Regions from separate parts of the Homo sapiens genome. Here all the other regions are linked to region 7. The links are contacts of gene promoters, found by promoter capture Hi-C in blood cells and fetal thymus (Javierre and others, 2016). All regions are on one chromosome and are shown on one strand. The core of a region is centred on a gene start or on the middle of the fragment in contact, and the rest is flanking DNA. Distances in the headings are between cores, read along the strand shown.

Evidence for each region. The method cuts DNA at HindIII sites, captures the fragments that hold promoters and counts their contacts. A CHiCAGO score of 5 or more calls a contact.
Region 1: a fragment that was not itself captured here is called in contact with the fragment with the promoter of CEMIP in region 7 in 5 of 17 cell types (M1 macrophages, M0 macrophages, monocytes and 2 more); the score reaches 9.8 in M1 macrophages.
Region 2: a fragment that was not itself captured here is called in contact with the fragment with the promoter of CEMIP in region 7 in 16 of 17 cell types (M0 macrophages, total CD8 T cells, M1 macrophages and 13 more); the score reaches 21.1 in M0 macrophages.
Region 3: a contact is called between a fragment that was not itself captured here and the fragment with the promoter of CEMIP in region 7, in 1 of 17 cell types (M2 macrophages). The highest score is 5.0, in M2 macrophages.
Region 4: a contact is called between a fragment that was not itself captured here and the fragment with the promoter of CEMIP in region 7, in 2 of 17 cell types (M1 macrophages and endothelial precursors). The highest score is 6.1, in M1 macrophages.
Region 5: a contact is called between a fragment that was not itself captured here and the fragment with the promoter of CEMIP in region 7, in 3 of 17 cell types (M0 macrophages, M1 macrophages and M2 macrophages). The highest score is 6.8, in M0 macrophages.
Region 6: a contact is called between a fragment that was not itself captured here and the fragment with the promoter of CEMIP in region 7, in 5 of 17 cell types (M1 macrophages, megakaryocytes, M0 macrophages and 2 more). The highest score is 10.5, in M1 macrophages.

What each region holds. Positions count from the first base shown.
Region 1 is chr15:80,438,945-80,442,054 of GRCh38, forward strand. All of the region lies in intron 1 of ARNT2 (aryl hydrocarbon receptor nuclear translocator 2), which reads left to right. Among named protein-coding and RNA genes, the nearest start is that of ARNT2, 36 kb to the left of the region's middle. The HindIII fragment of the contact is 7,419 bases long and covers 1-3,110 here.
Region 2 is chr15:80,457,483-80,460,594 of GRCh38, forward strand. It overlaps ARNT2 (aryl hydrocarbon receptor nuclear translocator 2), which reads left to right. Exons shown (of 19, transcript NM_014862.4): 3 at 447-494. Among named protein-coding and RNA genes, the nearest start is that of ARNT2, 55 kb to the left of the region's middle. The HindIII fragment of the contact is 8,174 bases long and covers 1-3,112 here.
Region 3 is chr15:80,399,561-80,402,496 of GRCh38, forward strand. The region is part of intron 2 of ARNT2-DT (ARNT2 divergent transcript); the gene reads right to left. Among named protein-coding and RNA genes, the nearest start is that of ARNT2-DT, 3.2 kb to the right of the region's middle. The HindIII fragment of the contact is 2,199 bases long and covers 472-2,670 here.
Region 4 is chr15:80,493,107-80,495,972 of GRCh38, forward strand. All of the region lies in intron 5 of ARNT2 (aryl hydrocarbon receptor nuclear translocator 2), which reads left to right. It overlaps LOC124903537 (a long non-coding RNA gene), which reads left to right. Exons shown (of 2, transcript XR_007064731.1): 2 at 1-1,001. Among named protein-coding and RNA genes, the nearest start is that of ARNT2-AS3, 68 kb to the right of the region's middle. The HindIII fragment of the contact is 2,736 bases long and covers 61-2,796 here.
Region 5 is chr15:80,418,699-80,421,862 of GRCh38, forward strand. All of the region lies in intron 1 of ARNT2 (aryl hydrocarbon receptor nuclear translocator 2), which reads left to right. Among named protein-coding and RNA genes, the nearest start is that of ARNT2, 16 kb to the left of the region's middle. The HindIII fragment of the contact is 6,550 bases long and covers 1-3,164 here.
Region 6 is chr15:80,476,464-80,479,234 of GRCh38, forward strand. All of the region lies in intron 5 of ARNT2 (aryl hydrocarbon receptor nuclear translocator 2), which reads left to right. Among named protein-coding and RNA genes, the nearest start is that of ARNT2, 73 kb to the left of the region's middle. The HindIII fragment of the contact is 280 bases long and covers 1,247-1,526 here.
Region 7 is chr15:80,778,107-80,781,052 of GRCh38, forward strand. It overlaps CEMIP (cell migration inducing hyaluronidase 1), which reads left to right and starts at 1,264. Exons shown (of 30, transcript NM_001293298.2): 1 at 1,264-1,508. RefSeq lists a silencer at 886-1,165 and an enhancer at 1,786-2,291. The HindIII fragment of the contact is 7,653 bases long and covers 1-2,946 here.

The DNA.
Region 1 (3,110 bases), core at 376-2,875, 340 kb before region 7:
TCCCAAAGTGTTGTCTCTTAATATTTGTATTATTTCCTCACTTCCTATTAAATGTAACTATTTGTTAAAGTTCTTGATAATTGATTTGCACACAAATTTTGCATATAAAATTAATAGCTTTTACCATATGGTCAAAGATTACTGCACATTTCATTCTTGCAATAATATTTATATTTATACACCATCTGACTGGGAGAGTTCAAAATACATCATACATACAAGGAGCTTTTTAATCTGAGTACATCTAGAATGCAGATTTACATTTGAAAGTGAACATGCGGACTTGAGCAATAAGTTCATGTGGCATGGCTTATTTGTAGTATTGATGTTGTTATGCTGTAGACGTAGAGATGGTGGTGACCTGAGTATCGTAAGGCCATTGATCATGCACAAGTTCAGGGATGCCAGAAATGATCTTGCAATAGGTATTTGACTGTTTGTCCTTTCAAAGGCCAAGGCATTCATTTAGAAGCCATGGCCAAATAATAGGTTTTGGGCAAATAGTGTAGCTGAAGCTGAACTTTGATGGGTCCCTGATAAATATGTTTGCATATATGATTCTGTATCCTGCTCCATTAACTTACTCTTAGCATTTTCCTATAACATTATCTTTGAAATCATGATATTTAAAGGTTAAGTAATTTTTATCTGGGAGTATTCCATAAGTTATGAGCTTTTCTCTTTATGTCAGACTTGTTAGTTCATTTGGTTTCTGTTCAACTTCCAACTGCCTTTGGACAGTCAACATGCATCTTGGTCATTCATTTCTTTCCCCTACCTTTCATATCCTCAGCCACTGTGAAGAGGTCTCTGCAGTCATTGAGAACTGGCCTCTTCCCTTTTATACAGGAAGGTCCCTCAGGTATCTGAAGACAGTTTTATCCCTCCTTCTGCCTCAAGGACTCTCCAGGCCAACAAGTTGTGTCTCACTAGCAGGTCCTCCTCAGTGAACCCTTCACCATCCCATGGTTCTTTCTCGTATTTTTGAATGTGGAGAATCAGAGCTTTGAACCCTCCTGTGTACTCTTCCACCAGCAACCCATGCCTTGCACTTTCTCCTTCAGGGTCTGTCTTACTGCACAGGGCTCCTGATTCCCTAGACTCAGGTCTTGGTAGGCCAGAGTCTAGGTTTTGGCTGAGACTCCTTCTAAGACCTCATTAGGGACATTCAGTTCACTGACGGACACCAATCCTTCCAACCTAGATGTTCTGGGCTGGCTTCTGTGTGATTGATGACACACACTTTCTTCTGATGGTCTGCGGCTTCTAGGTTTGACTCAAGCATGAGACAAGTCATGGGTGGATGTCTCATTGCAGTTAGACCTGTGGGGTCATCTCGCACAGAGTGGGGCAGGTTGAATGGGTCACTCATCCTTGTTGTCTTGCTCCAGAATCATATCCTTGACAGCAGCCTCTCCACTTTTCTTCCATTGGAATTACTGGTTACCCATCTTCTTGCTGGGTCTGTTTTATTTTTACTCCTTTTACAAATTTCAGCACAGAGATTACAGGACTTCAGCCCACAGGGTGGAGAAGGAAGCTGGAGTTAGTGGGTTCGGACACTAGTGGGAACATGGGGAGTGACACCATAGTGTGCTGTAGTGCAGTGCCCCTGTTCCAGAGGAGAGCCAGAGCTCTACCTGAGCCAGCACTGTTAGCTGAGGTGGGAGGGCATCTCCCCGGGCTGCCTTGGGACTGGTTTCAATTCCCTAATGCCAAAACCTGCCTGCCTACTAGAAGGGGCTCAGGCAGGCATCCAGGGCTCGGTATCCAGGCTGGAAGCACCAGCCAGAGGAGACAGGACCTGGCCTCTTCTTGCTTTCCCAGGTCCAGTGGCCATCCTCTTCTCTATTGCAGAGACCTTGGCCCAGCCTGCTGATCAGAAAAGAATGTCTTACAGAGGATCTCACGGCTGGTTAAAGCCGAGCATGGATCTGCAGTCAGAGTTCTCTGATTCTCAGTCTAATGATTTTCTGTACATTGTGCTATAAAAATGCTACCCCATGGAGGCCCTTTGGGAATCATGTGCCCTGTCTTCATTCCAGAAGTAAGAGGGACCCTCCCTTGCTTGGACTTCAAGAAAAATCCTTTATTATCTCTCACTAAAATGTTTGGATAAGAATCTAGATTTTTCAAATATGCATTTGTTATGGTTTCATAGGAAATCCAAGTAACCGATTTTTCAGAACCTAAGCAGTTAATGCTAGAAATTTTGCTGCAAATAAATTGATCAGTATGCAAGACAGTTGTCACGGCTGAATCATGGTCCACAGTTAAGGTAAACAGATCTGTGATGACATTTTCTCAGCAGAATACAAATGCAGCTACATTTCCTCCCAGAGGTTTCTGACATTTCTTCTACACGGATAACAGATTCTCCTAAGAAGGTGTTGGTCACAAGGAAGAAAGATCTTTGTTTAATCCCTCTGAAAAGGTAGGGCTGTGATATTTGATGTGCTTTCTGTGAAGAGAATTGTTCTAAGAGAGATGAATATTGAGAAGAGCGTTTTTCTTTGGTTAGTTGCCTGCCCTCACCCCCCTCCCAGCCATGGAAAGAGCCTTTTGGTTTTTCATTTATTTGAATGGCCATTAAAATATTGTGTGTTGTCATGTTGTGAAAGTTTGCATGTAATTGATTTTTTCCCAATGTAAAGATCAGGGGATATTTTTCTTACTTGGATTCACATGAAATGTAGGGAGAGCAAGATGTCTTTTTTTCCATTTCCTCCTGTTCCTTTCATCTGTAATGCTCTCAAGTTCCACGTTTTTTCCAGGTTTTCGCTGCCTACACTGTATTATAGGAATTCTACACAGTACGTCTGCATCTGAAATGTGAAATAGTCTGTAGCTAGATGCTGCATTATAAGCCAGATATGTTTTCTGTGTTACGGTGAACCTTACAAAATCTTTAGCTTGTACTGATTTTTAAATGAGCTCCAAACCTCATTCCAACTTTGCCTAAGAGCAGACAGTCATTTCCCCTCTGTGTGTAATGGGAAACAATTTCCTGAGGGGATATTTGCATTTGGAGTCAGACTGCTGCGAATACAGATATTTCTGTCTATTTGTGCATTTGCCATCGGTTATGATCAGGGATCTGAGCAGAGATC
Region 2 (3,112 bases), core at 23-2,522, 320 kb before region 7:
GAGCCTTTTTAGGCTCTTAATATACCACAAGATAAACTAAGAAAAAAGTCTTAATGTGGAATAGGTGATGCAGAGGGGTGCAGGTATTCCCAAAGATGGTGAGAGAAAAGGAAGAGACACCTTTCCATCATAGCCAGAGCAATCCATTGTCTGCTAAGAGTTCTAAGAAGGGAATGGCATATAGAGTTCTGGAGGGGACTAGTTGATACTTAAATATTCCCAGCCATAGAATTAGTGGTGCTTAGACTGAAGACCTTTCATTTTGCCTCTTCTTGTCTTGAACCCGTTTGATGACTGTGTAGAGATATTGCTTGTAGCACTGCCAAAGGTTGGGATCAATGGATAGCAGTCCTAGTGAATAAAGCTCCTTTTGTTCCAGCAGCTCCTGTTACCAGTTAAAATGTTCTCCTAATAATCAGTGCTCACTTGTGATCTTGACTTTTCAGAATGGACTTCGATGATGAAGATGGTGAAGGCCCCAGTAAATTTTCAAGGTAAGTTTATTTTATTTTCCTTAGACTTAAAGAAGGCAATAGCCAGCATTCACCTTAGAAAGATACAAGAATGTAACGTCTTTTGTCATTGCAAAAGCCATTGCCTGCAGTTTGACTGGTCCCTCACTCTGTGGCAGTATTTGGCCCAGTGGCAGCTAGCTATTAGCGACCCTGCCACATCCCAGCAGAGATGATCAAAAGGTAAGTAATAAGTTATTAACTCTGTTTGCTTTATAAGAAATTAATGTCAATTTTAAGGATTCATTTTAAAAAGACAATAGGGCTTTTTAAAAAGTATTTTTAAAAATTCCTATGTCTTTTAAAAAGGAATCTATTAAAATTAATATTCATTGCTTATAAAGCAAACAGAGGAATTCATTCTTCCTGAAAAGCCCTAGAGTTCAAGTTTAGAAAAAACTGTCAAGATAAGTCTTTTATTGCTACCATGGAAAATAAGAAGAGATATGAGAAACCAGGCAGCTGTGTTCTGGATGCAGGATAGAAAACTGGGTTTTCAGCTCCTAAGAACTGTATTGCCCCCTGGCCACGTGACAGCATCTTTATCTGGGCTCTGCGGGGCCGTCCTGAGTGCAGACCACCTCATGGAAAGTTTGCTGGATCATGAATGTCCATGGGTTATACACATTGCATACGTGAAGGATAAGGCAGGCCCAACCCCATGACTGTGTCTTTTTTTTTTTTCCATTTTGTTTAAGATATGGTAGGAAGTTTGGCAGTGTTGACAGGAAGGCACAAATCATTCCATCATTCTTAGCAAAATTCACATCTGTACCCACTTACCTAAGGAAGGGCCTGCCTTGACATTCCTCTCCACTAGCCAAGCCTCCAAGCCTTCCTAATTCTTGGTCATTGATGGACTTGAAAACTTGCCATGGGTGACGGTTGCTTTTCTTCTGTATCCATGCTCCATAGTTTGGACTGATGGCCTCAGTTGTTTTTGGAGGAACCACATGCATATTGAGTTCTGGGCCCCCTGAGTTACCCTAGTTTTCTCCCCTCATGGTAGCCATTTTTGGTGATGATTCCTTTTACAAACTGCATTGCGATTGTGAGTTCCACACACTTTTCCACCAGTCCAACAGGGACATGCATCTCCTTACTTCCCAGGGATTCCCAGAGTCTCCAAGTCCATAGTAAACTCGCATCATGCCATACACTTTCGTCCCCAAAATCTTTTCCTTCCGTCTTTCAGCTTCTGCTTTGGTTGAAACAGTAGAGAGGAGATGGAGAACATTTTGGTCACTAATGACCTTGGAGTTTCGAATCAAAACAGGACATGAGTTTCAATAACAAAAGCATGTATTGTTTTCCCTCGGTGCAGACAGAATGGCAGCTTGGACATCCACCCATTTCTTGGGATACACTTTAATAGCAGGGTGTGCTTTCTTGCTGAAATGGAAACAAGGGCACATATCTCCCTGCCCCAGTTTGCTCTCGCTGTACACAGCCTCCCTCTATGAAGGAACAATGACTTTGGTTCCTCCGTGTCAAAATTCCCCTTGAGATAACATTCCATAGCATGCTAACCTTAGGAAATGATGATTCCTGGGGCCTCAAAACATAAAGAGGAAGAGAGATGAGGAGTGACGTTTGTTTGACATTGAAAAGATCAGTGTCAGTGATGAAATAATAGTGCAGGGGTACAAAGAGCTCATTGTATTAGGCCCGATCATTAAGAAACAGAAACTCTACACTCTGGGTAACTATCTCATGACCGTGTCTGTGAGTCCGTTTTTATACAGTCAAGGTTCAAACCCAGGCATCTGTGAACCATATCATTTCCCCCATGAAAAATAAGGAAGATAGGATGTGTTTCCAGCATATGCTGTTACTAATAGGAATGAGTTTGTAGGACCGCAGAGGCCCAGAGGTCACCTAGGCTTAGCTGCTGGGCCCTCAGTGAATGGGCCCATGGTTGCATCTGAGCTTCTCAGCACTGGGAGAGACGACTGAGTCCACCCTCATCCCTCCACTTTGCAGTGACTGTGGCTGCTGTCCAGGGGAGGAGTGGAGAATCTGCTTCCAATTGGCATGGAACACCCCAGTGCCTCTCCTGTTGGCTTTTTCTCTTCTTACAATCAGGCAACAGAAGCCCCTTCATGTGAGGCCCTGGAAGAGATAGAGGCTGCCTTGTGAGCCAGCACCCACCGTAGTTTGCTGACTCAGAATCTAGGCAGGGTGCTGTGCCATGGTTTCTGTCTCCTGTGTGTGTGCCATCAGCTTTTCCAGCTTTTTGCAAGGGGGCTTCCCAGTTTAAATGTCCTGCCTATCATGAGACCTCATGTCTCAATTTTTGATTTGGGAAGTGTGGTCACAGTCACAAAGCAGCTCAATTATAGGAATTTGATATGGTTCCTACTTTAGCACAGCCAGGCCCATCACAGCAGGCCTTAGATGCAACAAAGTAGTAGATGTGAAGCTGCCACTGCTGTGTGACCTCAGGTGCACACACAAGCACGCACATGCACACGCCCATACGTGCATAGGCATTCCAGGATCCCGCCTGCCAGTGCCATAAATGTTCTCAGGCCCGCTCCACCACATCCCAAGGCCTCAGCTCTTTCTCACACATGGGATTCATGCCATTCGGGGAGCTG
Region 3 (2,936 bases), core at 321-2,820, 380 kb before region 7:
CTGAGGGGCTGGGATGGTCATTTGGCTGGTGAAAATTAAGGTATCTTTAGGAAGACTCACACTGAGAGCTGATATCTGTGGCCTTGGTTTGGGGCCTTGTTCATTCAATCTTGCCTACTATAGCCTTTTAGTCCTCACCCAGATATCTGTTAATTTAGACCCTCAATGCCTTCATGTCTCCTCACCTGTGGGACACCTAGCATACTTCACAGAGCCACGAGGAGCCAGGAGTGCCATATAAAGCCCAGCTTTGCAGCTACATCCTTCGATCCCTGCAGAACCACCCTGTGTGTTATCTTCCCCAAGACTCCCACATGGGTGGTGGCCAGAAACCCCTCTGCTTTTGGCTATTCCATCAGCTGCCTTGATATACCTTCCACGGAAACTAGAGCACCTGGGTCTGACTGCCTGTTTCCCCTCCCACCCTCCTTCCTTCCTTCTCTCCACTCTCCATGAAGGTAAAGCACGACAAGCTTCCCCTTCCTATCTCTGTGGGACAGAGACTTGCCATACTTTTCTTCTTCCCTCTGCAATACTATCACAATACATTTTAAAGTCTCTAAAGTGTATACAGCACACACATTACTTCCTTCAATGTCATCTTCACCAAAACTCAGCACAGTAGGTAACATCATCCCCATTTTCCAGGTGAGGAAAGTGAGACTTAGAGAAGTTTCATGAAGTGACAGAGCAAAAACCTACACCACACTTTCGCTTCAAAGGCTGGTGCTTATGCCTTTTTGTATAAAACTAACATCTCATCCACATTTGATCTGTTATAAGTCCATGATTCTTGGTGTAAAGGAGAGACTTGATAGAGAAGAAGGCAGGGGTGGGGGCTGGGGGTAGTGCCTGGACAGACAATCCGTGGGCAGTTGTCACCTGTGTAGAAATAAAGATAAGGAGGTAGCAGTGGGGATAACACAGACCCATGAGCCTTTATCTCCAGCAAAGAGAGAGAGAGAAGTTAGAAAGAATGGAGGAGGAAGGAAGGGTTGAGAGGAGACATATAAATGGAGAGAAAGCCTGTGGTTATATCCATGGCAGCCCTACCATGCCTCTCCTTCTGCAGAAGCCCATGCGTTCATTCCTGGTTTCTTCATATCTTAAAGTGAAGTTAAAAGAACATAAAATTAGCCAGGCATGGTGGCTCACGCCTGTAATCCCAGCATTTTGGGAGGCCGAGGTGGGCGGATCACGAGGTCAGAAGATCAAGACCATCCTGGCCAACATGGTGAAATCCCATCTCTACTAAAAATACAAAAATTAGCTGGGAGTGTTTGGTGGGGGGTGCACCTGTAATCCCAGCTACTTGGGAGGCTGAGGCAGGAGAATTGGTTGAACCAGGGAGTTGGAGGTTGCAGTGAGCTGAGATCACTCCATTGCACTCTAGCCTGGTGACAAAGCGAGACTCCATCTAAAAAAAAAAAAACAAAACAAAAAACAAAAACAAATAAACAAAAAACCGGGTGCAGTGGCTCACGCCTGTAATCCCAGCACTTTGGGAGGCCAAGGCAGATGGATCACCTGAGGTCAGGAGTTTGAGACCAGCCTGACCAACATGGAGAAACCCCGTCTCTACTAAAAATACAAAATTAGCTGGATATGGTGGTGCATGTCTGTAATCCAGCTACTCAGGAGGCTGAGGAAGGAGAATTGCTTGAACCTGGGAGGCAGAGGTTGTGGGGAGCCAGGATTGCACCATTGCACTCCAGCCTGGGCAACAAGAGTGAAACTCCGTCTCAAAAAAAAAAAAAAGATAAAATTGCCTTGGATCATTATATATTATACAATGGAAATCCTTTGTCTCGAGTATTAGGACTTAAAGGGATATGAAGCAGAACTCAGGTGGCTGCTTTCTCCCATCAAGTTAAAAAAAAAAAAAAAGAAGAAAGAAAGAAAGGCTGTGGACCCTGGTACACATTAGCACAGCAGCTGGTCAACTCTGGTCATTTCTAGGAGCGCTGTGCTCAGAATCGTGTGCTATGGGCCCGGTGGATCTGCATTAATCTTTTCAAAAATGCAAATCTCAGCTTCAAATTCAACAGCCTCCTCTGGAATTTCAAAGAGTTCTGGGTTGTTTAAAGGTTGAGTGGAATTCCTGAGCCTGTGTTAACTGGTCACAGTCTACTGACTCTCATAATTAGCGCAAGACCACTGTGTTGTGTAAATGCCACTCAGTATTCAACAATGACTAACCACTCCATTTCAGATTGTTTACTTAAGTGGGGGGCTTTCATCCACAATCAGTGTTTCTGAGCATTTAACCTATTTAATACTGAGAGACGAGAGAGAAGGCGAGTTGCCCATTTCTCTATTTCTTCCCCTACACCCTAACCGCTCCCCAACTCCAGCCACCAAATCCCAGTATTGTGCGTAGCCCAGTTCTAAGTCTTGTCTGGCTATTAAGCTGCATGACGTTGGCTACCCTGAGCCTCAGTTTCCTTATCTGCAAACTCCAGGGGCAGAATTGGATGATGTCGAAGGTCCTTTCTACCTCTGAAATACACTGACTGGGGGAGAAGATGAAATGTCTCCTTTGTGAAAATCTAAACGTATTTATTACGTACCAAAAACCACAGCACGGCCGACTCCAGACTTGGGAAGTGTCTAGCAGTTGTCCACGTGTCGCCTGTCTTTTATTGCAATGGACCAGTGCAAGAAGTAGGAAGCTTGAGCAAGATCCAGTTTTAAAGATATCAGCCGAGTAACATTTAGAAAAATGGGCAGAACACAACAGCAGAGTAAGAAAGTAAAACTTGTCAACAAATTTGTATGGTTAAATGTGTGTGTGCGTAAGAGTCATGTTCACTCATATTTTATTTTTTAGGGATGATATTAGAACTGTATTTGGAGACAAAATGAGCCATGGGTCCTGGCTGAAATGCTAAACTGATACATAAACACCAAGGAGAGGAACTTGCTTCCTTCTAAGG
Region 4 (2,866 bases), core at 179-2,678, 280 kb before region 7:
AAGACTGAGAGAGCAAAAGCAAGAGAGAACGAGACAGAGAGCGGAAAGCAAGAAGGGCCAAGCTTGCTTTTATAACAAACCCATCCCTACAATCATGACATTAAACTATTCATGAGGGCTCTGCCCTCCTGAGGCCTTATGACTTGATCACCTCTTAAAGGTCTTACCTCACAACACTCTTGCATTGGGGATTAAGTTTCCAATACATGAGCTTTGGAGGACACATTCAAACCACAGCAAGTGGCGGGGGGTGGGGGTGGGGGATTTGTTCTGATTTTTCCTGAATTGTGTACAGCTATCTGGGAGCTGCAGCCGAGGCAGCCCTGTACCTTGGTCACCATTACCTGAAGTTAGTAGGGCCATGCCCACTCCTTTACATGAAATGCTGCCTCTCAGAAGCAGGCTGTGGCAGCTTTTCTTCCTCTTTATGTGGCAGGTTGTTTGCTTTAAGTCAGGGTGATATGAGGGGGCTCTGCCTCTGGCCTCACTGTGATTATACCCTAGGTCACTTGTCTTCTGCTTCCTGATTTCCTGTTCTCTCTCTCCTGCTTGGAGTTTGGAAACTTCTAGTAGGGAACTCTTTCACTTTCTTCCCAGGCAGTTTGTTTCCTCATATTGGTTGAACCATGATGATATAGTTGGAATGGTTGTCCCCTCCAAATCTCATGTTGAAATTTGATCCCTAATGTTGGAGATGGGGCCTGGTGGGAGATATTCGGATCATGAGGGCAGATCCCTCACTAATGGCCTGGTGCCCTCCCTGTGGAAATGAGTAAGTTCTCACTCTTTTGGTTCACCTGAGAGCTGTTTGTTTAAAAGAGCATGGCACCCCTCCTTCTCTCTCTGTCTTGCTCCTTTTCTTGCCATGTGACACTCCTGCTCCCTCTTTGCTTCTGCCATGATGCTTCCTGGAGTCCTCACCAGAAGCAGATGCTGGCACCATGCTTCTTATACAGCTTGCAGAACCATGAACCCAATAAACTTCTTTTCTTTGCAAATTACTCAGCCTCGGGTGTTCCTTTATAGCAACACAAAATGAACTAAGACACATGAGCTGCTCATACTCATTTCCAGACCATCCCAGGTGTGCTGTGCTGTTTTTTGCAGAAATATTTCAATATCTCTCTATTTTAAGGCCCCTTTTACTGTTTTTCTTCATGAATGCAGATTTTTCCTGCTATTTTTGTATTTTTAAAATCATTTCATTAGCAAACTGCGAAGGAGGGAAGGCACGACTTGAAATTGCCTTCTTGAACTCCATGTCAGCCTGGTCTCCTGGCATATACTGGGCTGCCTTTCCACAGCCAAGGAGGGTTAATCATTTACCGTTAAAATTAAACCCCTCAGGCTTGCATTTCTGGCATTTTTGTAGCATGATACCCCAAGAGGAATGTATTTCTTTAAATCACACTTCAGCATATTCTAAACAGGATGAAGAATTTGTACTTTTGTCTACAGATTAAATAGCAGAAGAGGTGCCGGCCATGGGAGGACTGTGGGGTGATGATTTTATAATGAATAGCAGAGCAGCAGGCCACAGCAGGCGGTGGCCCATGATCCCACATCATGTTGAGAATGTGAATGCAGAAAAAGCTGTGAAGTTCTCAGGCTTTTCAGAGAGCCACGAGAGCCCAGTTGTCGAGGTGGGAGAGGTGGTATGGCCTGCCATTCATGTTGGAGTTCTCTGCCCGTTGGTATGGACTGACCCCAAATGTGCCAGTCTTGGTCTTTTCATTGCTCATGAGATGATGATCTCTTGGATATTCTCTGCAGAGTTTTGCTGCCCTCCTTGTGCCATCCTGCTGCCTGCTCCTTGCCTAGTTAGTCTCATTAGCACCTTCCCCAGATGGTACAGTAGAGGGACAAAGGGATTGACATGCAAACAGACTGCTTGGCGGAAAGGCTCTTCTGAGTGTCTGCAGGGCCTATTAGTCGCAATGCTAAGTCCCTTTTGCCAGACCTAATCAGGCACCCCCACCCCTGTAAGCCTTTTTTTTGTCTCCTTATTCCATGGCCACTGATTCTAATCTGAGTTCTAACCCAAACCCCAGCCGCCATCTTCCTTGCTCAGGAACGCAAGAGGGCCCAGAGGGGGATGGTTCCCAAAAGCCTATTCTTACTATCTGAAAACAGTTTCCCTCTGTGGGTCAGCAGGAGCCCATTCTGCTCAGTGAACATTATTGTTGCTGCCAACTCTTCATTCTTCCCAGTACACTCTTTGTGTACACAGGAGCTCTCCCGACATGGCTGGACACTCAGGTTCCAAGTTGAGGTGTCTCTCTTTTCCTGAATGTTGGATATGAATGCTAATCTTACAGGTTTTTTGCTCCTAAAATCTAAATTATTGATATTCGTATATTTAAACTGCAAATCATATGAATTTTCCTAGGCAGTTCCGGGAGGTAGAAGTTTTGCTTTTAGAAGGGAATGTGGCCTTTGCAAAGCATGCTCAATATTCATTGCCAACAGCATGAAGGGCTGGAGGGTTTGTCAGAAGCATGTTTCTCAAGTCTCTGGCTTTTCTGCCTGTGTGACAGATAGCAGAATCATTTTGAGAGCTTGACTCCTCTGTTTGCTTTTGCTCATGCCTTCCTAGGGCTCTGTGCCCTGGGGTTGGGCCCCAGCCCACCTCTCCAGCCCCTCTCCCTGTGGAGCTCCAGCCAAACAGGACTTTGTACTATTCTCAGACCCCTCCTTCCACTTTCCCCACACCTTGCTCTGAGCCCTTTACTTGGGGCATCCTATCCCTTGCAGCTCCATCTCTCTGAGGCTCCTTTAGCACCTCCTCTGGGAGGAAGCTTTCCCTGACCCAGTCTGCTCTCTCCAACATGAAGCACTCTCTCTGTCTGCTCTGTGCTGCCTTTGC
Region 5 (3,164 bases), core at 503-3,002, 360 kb before region 7:
GGTCTGCCTGCACATCTGAAACTTACCTCTGTAGCTGGCTGGCTCCTTGTACCTCCTTACCTGGCCCTGCTGGGCCTCAGGCTGAGTCCCAAGACAATCAAGTTTTGTACAACACTTTATGGACAGACTAGGAGTTAGGACATGTGCCCCTTTTTTCAAGTTAATTCATTTGTCCTCATTCATTCATTCAATAAATATTTATTAAATATCTGCCCTTCATTCCTCACGGTGCTTAGGTGCTGGGAATACACTGGGTGGAAAGAATGACAGAGTCTGTGCCTTCATGCATTTAGAGGCTTCTTGAGGGGAGCGTCTTTCGGAGTCCTCCAAGCTGAATATTCCAGCACTGGAAACAAACCATTTTCTAGAACGCAGGATCTGTTAGGTCTGTCTGCCACTAGATGGCGTGGTCAAATAGGTACCTCAGTGATTTGCAAACTTGACCCAGGGATCACCAGGAGGGCTTGTAAAAACACAAAGTGCTGCCCCATCTCAGTTTTGGAGTCAGTCGTTCAGGGGTGGGAGTGGGCTGGGGTGAGATCGGCATTTCTAACAAGTTCCAGTGATGCTGGTACTGCTGGCCCAGATCCCCTTCAGGTCCACTGAGGCAGGGGCTGCACTAAGCCAGTACTATCCAATGCCAGCTAACTCACCTGGTTCAGGATGGCTGGGCTCAATCGCCCATTTCACAGGTGAGGAAATAAAGGTGGTCGAACTGAGCCTTGAAAGGCTGATCCTAACACACGGATTTGCCTGATCCCAAGTGTACCTTCTTTCCACTGTCACACTGGCTTTCCCTGGGTGATCTGGAGGGAGAAGGGAAGATAATTAATGAGTGGACTGTGCTGAAGAGAAATGAACCAGAGGTGTTAACTAGGCATCCAGCAGCGTGAGAGGGTAGGAAGAGGAATCAGTGGCCCAGTCCTGGCATTGACATGGCATGGTGCCCTGGGACACCCCTACCTTTTCTCTTTGGGCTTTTGGTTTTCTTATCTATAACGTGAATGGTTGGCATGAAAGCACCTCTCATGTGGCAGGGTCCTGGAAAGTCCCGGGAGAAAAAGCTGAACAGACACCATGCCGGTTCTTAGGGAATTTCCATGGTATTTGGAAGATAAACACAAATGGTTTTCCTGTGCCTGGCAGCAGGTCAGCCTTAAACAGCAGGGCATAGTTTGCTTTGGAACGCAGTGTAAGGCTCTCACCAGAGGGTCTTAGGATAAGGGGTGGAGCCTGAAGAGCCTTGGAGGAGATGGTGGTGGGCTCCGTCTGAGTTGGGGAGCCTGGGGCAATGGGAGGATAGGCTGCCAATGGTCACAGCACCCGCACCTCCCTATGCAACCAGCCATCCACGTATGTCTTTGAGCCTCTCTCCACATTTTATCATCTCACACCAGAACCCACATTCTGGATCTGTCTTTTAACTCCTCTTCTATCAGCCCCTCTTTTTAGTTTAAAAAAAAGACCCTATGAACATATGAATATATGTATTGACTATACAGATGGTCCCCAGCTTACAAGGGTTTCACTTAAGATTTTTGACTTTATGATGGTTACAAAGTGATATGCATTCAGTAGAAACTGTACTTCAAATTCTGAATTTTGATCTTTTCCTGGACTATTGATATTTGGTACAGTACTCTCCCAAGATGCCAGGCCAGATCATGTGACACAAAGCCTATTTTATAATGAAGTGTTTAGTGTCTCATGTAATTTATTGGATATATACTGAAAGTGTTCTGAGCATGTTTAAGGTAGGCTAAGCTAGGGTGTTTGGTAGGTTAGGTGTATTAAATGCATTTTTGACTGAAGATATTTTCAATTTACGATGGGTTTATTGAAATGTAACCCCATCAGAAGTGGAGAGCATCTGTATGAATATATATATTATGAACATATGAATATATATATTATGAACATATGAATATATATTATGGACATATAAAAAGAATTATATGTGAATATATATTTTTATTAGAATGAATATATATATTGGAATGAATGAATTAGAATGAATATATATGTACATATGTTCATTCCAATAAAAGTGGCTTACTACCTGCCTTAGAAGAGTTAGTGAGATGAGATGGTAAGAACGTAATCACTCCTGGGATGGTTGACCTTGGGTAACTGAAAGCACGGACCTTGGGTAACTGAAAGTGAAAGATAACAAGGGACTACTGCAAAAGGTTTGGCAGTTACTGAGTATCTACCCAAAGGCAAAAGAAGTCATTATGTCAAAACAGCACATGCACACATGTTTATTACAGCACAATTCACAATTGCAAAGATAGGGAACCAACCTAAGTACCTGTCAACTGATGAGTGGATAAAGAAAATTTGGTATATATACACCATGGAATACTACTCAGCCATAAAAAATAACAAAATAATGCCTTTTGGAGCAACTTGGATGGAGCTGGAGGCCATTATTCTAAGTGAAGTAACTCAGGAATGGAAAACCAAATACCTTATGTTCTCACTTAGAAGCGAGAGCTAAGCTATGGATGTGCAGGGGCATACAGGGTAGTATAATGGACATTGGAGACTCAGAAGGGTGGAGGGAGTGACGGCTAAAAAACTATATATTGAGTACAATGCACACTACTTGGGCAACAAGTACACTAAAATTTCGGCCTTCACTATACAATTCATCCATGTATCCAAAAACCAGTTGTACCCCTAAAGCTATTGAAATAGAAAGAAAAGAAAGGAAGGAAAGGAGGGAGGGAGGGAGGGAGGGAAAGAAAGAAGGAAGGAAGGAAAGCTGTCATCACAATATTAAAATCAATAAAAATAAATGTTAAAAAGTACTTAATGGTACAAAGAAAGTCATTTTTAACCTATAGTTCACTAGTTTTGAAACAATGCACCGAATGACATTGTATAGGTTATATGAATTGTCTGATGGTAGCTGAGTGCAAACTCCATCTTATTGCTGTATTTTCTCCATCAAATTAAACCCAACTTATTTCTTCCAGCTTGGCTGTTTAAACATTCAGTCTCATCATTTGTTTTGAGGAAGGTGCACCTTTTTCCTAGGGTATTTACGACACCTTGGGCCTTATGCAGCTCAGGAAAATTAGAAGCTAATCTCTGATCTTCTTTTAATTGTGGTTCCTAGTGAGATACTCATTACCAGGTTTCAGGGTCCAGTTGAAGGC
Region 6 (2,771 bases), core at 137-2,636, 300 kb before region 7:
ACAAGAGTTATAGAAGCATTATACCAAAATATTTGCATTCTGCTCTATGACAGATATATTTGTGTTGTCATTCTCCCTGACCATATTGTGAGCTGTTGTATTCCCACTTGCTTTTGTGTCTGCCCACAGTGCTAAACTCAGTGCTTTGCCCATAGTAGGCCTTCAGCAGAAGCCTGATGAATTAGTGAGTGTGTTGTTTATTGTGGTCAGCCTAGGATGCCATAACAAAATACCACAGAATGGGTTACTTAAATAACAGAAATGTATTTTCTCATAGTTCTGGAGGCTGGGCATTCAGTGTCCTAATCCATTTGGGCTGCTATAACAAAATACAATAAACCGAATAGCTTTTATGTAACAGAAATTCATTTCTCACTGATATGGTTTAGATCTGTGTCCTCACCCAAATGTCATGTTCAATTGTAATTCCCAATGTTGGGGGCAGGCCCTGATGGGAGGTGATTGGATCATGGGGGTGGGTTCGCCTGAATGGTTTAGTACCATCCTCTTGGTCCTGCTCTCGTGATAGTGAGTGAGTTCTCACAAGATCTGGTTGTGTGTAGTACCTTCCCACTCTCTCTCTTAAGAGTTCCTGCTTCTGCCATGTAAGACACCTGCTTCCCTTCACCTTCCGCCATGATTGTAAGTTTCCTGAGGCCTCCTCAGAGGCCAAGCAGATATCAGCATCATGCTTTTTGTACAGCCTGCAGAATGGTGAGCCAATTAAACCTCTTTTCTTTGTGAATTACCCAGTCTCAGGTATTTGTTTATACAATGGGAGAACAGACTAATACAGTCAGAGTTCTAGAGGCTGGGAAGTCCAAGATCAAGGCACCTTGATGTCTGGCAAGGGCCTACTTTCTAGATGTTGCCTTCTAGCTGTGTCCTCACATGGTGGAAGGGACTAGCTATCTATCTGGGATCTGTTTTATAACAGTACCTAATCACCTCCTAAAGGCCCCATGTCCTAATATCATCATCTGGGAGATTAGAATTTCAGCGTACGAATTTGGGGAGAGCGTAAGCATTTAGTCCATTGCATTCAAGATCAGTATATCATCAGGTTTGTTGTCCCCTAAGGCCCTTCTCCTTGATTTGGAGATGGCCACCTTCTTGCATTCTCACAAGAATTATAACCAGCCTAAGTGTAGGTCTCTCCTCTGTGTGCACGAATCTTTTGTGTCTCTGCCTCTTCTTATGAGGACACCAGTCACTAAATTAGGGCTCACCCATATGATCTCATTTAAGCTTAACAATCTCTTTAAAAGTCCTGTCTCCCAAATACAGTCACATTCTGGGGTACTGGGGATTAAGACTTTAACATACTAATTTTAGCGGGGAACACAATTCCACCTATAATAACACTTATGATAAGAGTGAGTTTGATGTTGCTAAAAGTGAGAAGTGTACAGCTGTTTTGGAAGGATATTAGTAATTTTCTCAGTGCTGGTGATCAAAGATGTAAAAAAGGAGGAAGAGGATAGAGAATTAAGGTGTAAAGACAGTGTCTTTTTCTCCTGGCAGTAAGCTTTGATGTTCTTGTAAAACAGCGATGCTGAAATAGGCTCAGAAAGACTCTTTCTGCTACCCCATTCTCCTGCCTGAATTAGCAAACTCCATATAGAAATCCTAAGGGACACACCTTATAAAGTTAAATATTTGGGAGGAATGTAAAAGGGGAAAACCAACCAACCAGGAAATGTTGGTTTGACAGCTGAAATCACCTTCTCTGGAAAGTGCTGTCTTTCCCAGACTTCTATATGTGACCACAGGATGTGGCTTTTGGAAACCCAGTCTGGAGACCCAGCTGGGGAAGCTGCCAGGGAAGCGATGGTCAAGGCAGGTCAGGCTCTGGCCAAGGGTGTAGCCAGCTGGTTCATCATAGTTGGGTGGACATTTCTGTCCATGTGAAGTCTGAATGTGTCTGGGAGAGTTTAAACAGGCGATGTGAACCACATTTGGACAGAAATGTCCTCGGAGTGGACACTGGACTGTGGCCAAGGCAGCCAGAACCAGTACAGTGGAGGGTGTCCTCCAAGATGCCAGAGAAGGCCCTGTGAAAGGTGAAGAGCCAGGTCTCTGAGTTTGCCTATGGGCCAAGCCCGTCTTGTCAGGAACAAGATGAGGCTGGAGAAGTGGGTTCTTATTCTTAGGGTGGAAGAGAGGACAGGGTCTCTTTTGCAGTCATAGGGTGTGATGCGACTTTCCTAGAACATGCAACAAGCTCTTATTGATTCCGTGGGGGAGAGCTTGGAAGAGCTCTCTGAAACTGGGCTGCTACTCAGACAGGCCTTAGGGTTTTCCTGGTGCTCAGGACAGGACTGGAGTGGGTTTCATATGTAACCAGCCCAAGCATAATTTTAAAATTGTATTAAAAGGCCTCAGGTGTGGTTTAATGCCTTCAATTATTGGACTAGAGTCTCTCAAACCCTCCTGTCCCTTGACTCATGTGGTTTTAGGCCTGGAAAGAGGTGACATGGTCCACTTTGGGAGAGTCAGGGTGGAAGGGTGTTGAGGCGAGGCAGGGAGCCAGGCAAGGCCTGCTGGAGTGGAGGTGGCTTAACTAGGGCAGCCTGACCTCCTTTCCCAGTGGAGTTTCCCTCCTCTGAGCCTCTCTCAGTGGTGATTCAATGTCTCATTCGTTGGACCTGCAGGGTCACCTGTACTGAATGTGTGGAGGTTTGCATGTGCACAGGGGAGGGGACAAGAAACCTGACTTCACTGGGGCCTGCAGACTCCCATGTTGGCTCAGGGACCCCAGAAAATCAATA
Region 7 (2,946 bases), core at 14-2,513:
ACCACAGCCTGGCCTTAAAGTCCAGACCTAGAGTCCCGGAGCTAGTGTGTACTACACAGAATGGAGACCTTGCCTGAGGAGCTGGTTCTCAGAGAACACTGGCAGGAAGGAAGAAAGAAATGTATATTCTAGGAGGCCTCTGCTAACCAGGAAAGGGGGCTGAGTCACACTCTGAAAGGTGGAAGAGGCAGAGAGCAGGTATCAACGCCCTCATTTTACAGATTAAAACAAAACAAGAAAAACAAACACTCCTCACCTCCCTGCAAAAAAACCACCCTGAGGCTCAGACAGGGGAAGTAGCTGGCCCTGGTCACACAGTAGGTTAGCGGCAGAGTTGAGAGGAGACTCCATATGCCCTAGGGATGTGTTGTGATGAACTTTTCCTACTGGTACTGTTTCCTCCCGCGAGGGAATGTCTAGACCAGCCGCACCTTCTTGCTTTGACCCTTCAGAACTTTGGCCTGTCCAGTTAAAGAGGCACAGAGCCCTCCTACCCACAGGGAATGTTTCTAACTTACCAAGCACCTATTATGTGCTTAGAACTTGGACTTTCCTGATCTCATTTAAGCCTCACCATTCTAGTGAGGAAGCATCACAGAACCCATTTTCCTGATGAGGAAACTGAGACTGGGAGGGGTTAAGATCCTGTACACAGTTGTAACTGGCATGTCTGAATCCAGTTTCAAACCAAGGTGCCTTTCAGTGAACACCCAAGCATCTTCCTCTCGGATTAACTGCTAGGCCAATACCAAAATCTCTTTCTCGGGCTACTCTTTTGCTGCTGAGTTAAAAAGAGATCCTGAGACTTAGCCTGGGACCCCGACTCGCGGCGATTCTGTGGCAGGCGCAGACCTTTTCTCCTGTCCTCCACTGCCTCTTTGCCTCGGAGGGCGCCCCGGGGCGCGAGCGGGGCACGGGCGACCCTGGCTCCTTGGAGGCCCGGGGACTTGCTCTCCGCGGTCCGCCGCGGCCGCTCCACCGAGTCCTGGCCTCCAGCGCCCTCACCTGGCTGCTGCGGGCGGGACTCTGCGCACCCGGGCTCCGCGGGCTCAGGTCTGCGTCTCCCAGAGCCGCCGCCAGAGCCCGCCCCGGTCCGGCCCGGGCACAGGGCCCCCGCCCCACTTGGGCAAGGCGGGGGCGCGTGGAGGGAAGTTTCATCGGGGGGCGAGGGAGGGAGCTTCGGTGCCGCGCGGGCGTCAGGGGCTCCTCGGGGGAGGAGTCAGTAAAAGTGGCTATAAAAGCGGCCTCTCGGCTGAGGGCCGGGGAGCTAGCGCTCAAGCAGAGCCCAGCGCGGTGCTATCGGACAGAGCCTGGCGAGCGCAAGCGGCGCGGGGAGCCAGCGGGGCTGAGCGCGGCCAGGGTCTGAACCCAGATTTCCCAGACTAGCTACCACTCCGCTTGCCCACGCCCCGGGAGCTCGCGGCGCCTGGCGGTCAGCGACCAGACGTCCGGGGCCGCTGCGCTCCTGGCCCGCGAGGCGTGACACTGTCTCGGCTACAGACCCAGAGGTAAGAGGGCCTGGCTGGGGGCGTCAGGGATGAGCTGACGGCCCATGCCACGGAAGAGAGGTAAGAAGTGGGGGCCCGCGCCTCCACCCGGCACAGGGTAAACGTTACCCGCCTCAGTTTCTGTTTGTCTGTCCACCCTGTGCTGTGCAGTCTACCTCTATCTGTCTGTTTGTCCATGCGTCTGTTGATGGGCACACGCTCTTGGCACTGTCCTCTGTGGGATTTCTCTGAGATCTTGTGATGCTTTACAAGCTGCAGGTGCCGGGGGGCGCTGGAGTCCCCAGAGGGCATCCAGAGGGGGCAGACTCCTGCTTTCCGTAGATTTTCCCCCTTCTGAATGGCACCGGGGGCTTGCGCCCGGGAGAGTGTCTCGCCGAGGAGGGAGTACCACAAGGGTCAGGTCTCGGTGTCCTGCCGACTGGGAGCCAGCTCACGCCGAGCTCTAGCGGGCGTGCGCCTAGCAACAGGTCTGCGCCCTGCTGCTCCTGCCTCAGCACGCTCTTCCTCCCAGTTTCCCTCGCCTCCCAGTGCCTCCGGGACAGCGCTAGGCACCCAGCGACGCGCTGGCGCGGGGCCGAGCTGAGGCAATTGCAATGTTAGATGAACCCGGGGGGCTCTGCTGATGTTTAGACTGAGACTCCAAACGTGGCATCGCTGGAAGAAGGTCTGGTGGTCCCTGGCAAAGGACGTCGGCTCCAAGAAAGGTCGCGTTAGGTTGTGAGGAAAGGCAGAGAGTCCTGGCAGAACGCTGGCCAGGTCTCCAGCTCGCCGCTCTGGGAACGAAGGCCAGTGACATTCTGGAATGGACCCCAAGGGATGCGTGTGCTCATGAGAGAGGAGCGCTGTGCGCCCTGGGTCCTCAGCCGCAGACACTCTCTGCGACAGCCGCTGTTCCCCAAGGGTCGGACGCTACGGCAGTCCCAGGAGTTCCGCCAGCTGCCGGGTTTGAGGTCCTGAGTCCTTCTCCAAGCAGCCAACGCTACCCACAGGTGAGAGCTCCCTTTAAAAACTAATCTTCTGATGTGTGAGCCAGTGCCTGGCTGCAGCCCCATACCAGGGACGGTGAGCCGGGGAGCGCGTCTCTCCATCCCTGCGGTCTGGAAAGTGATCCAGGGCGCGCCCGAGGGCGGGGAGCCGGCGGCTCTGCGTGCCCAGGCGCGACGCCACCATGGACAGCTCCCAGCCACTTCCTCCACTCGGGGTCTGTGGCCCTGGGTCTCCGGGGAAGTCGTGCGCTTTCTTCCCAGACCCAAGGCGTTGGGGCGCTGGGAAAGAGGAAAGGGACTGAGAGTCCGCTGGGGCCCTCGGTATTACCACTCAGGAGGCAGCCCAGCCCTCAGGAGTCTGTGGTTTGTGACCAGGTCCTAGCTGAGCCGGCAGTTCTGCAGGACCTCCCGGGGGCACTCTGTGGTTCTCTGGCTTTTCTATGACACCACGG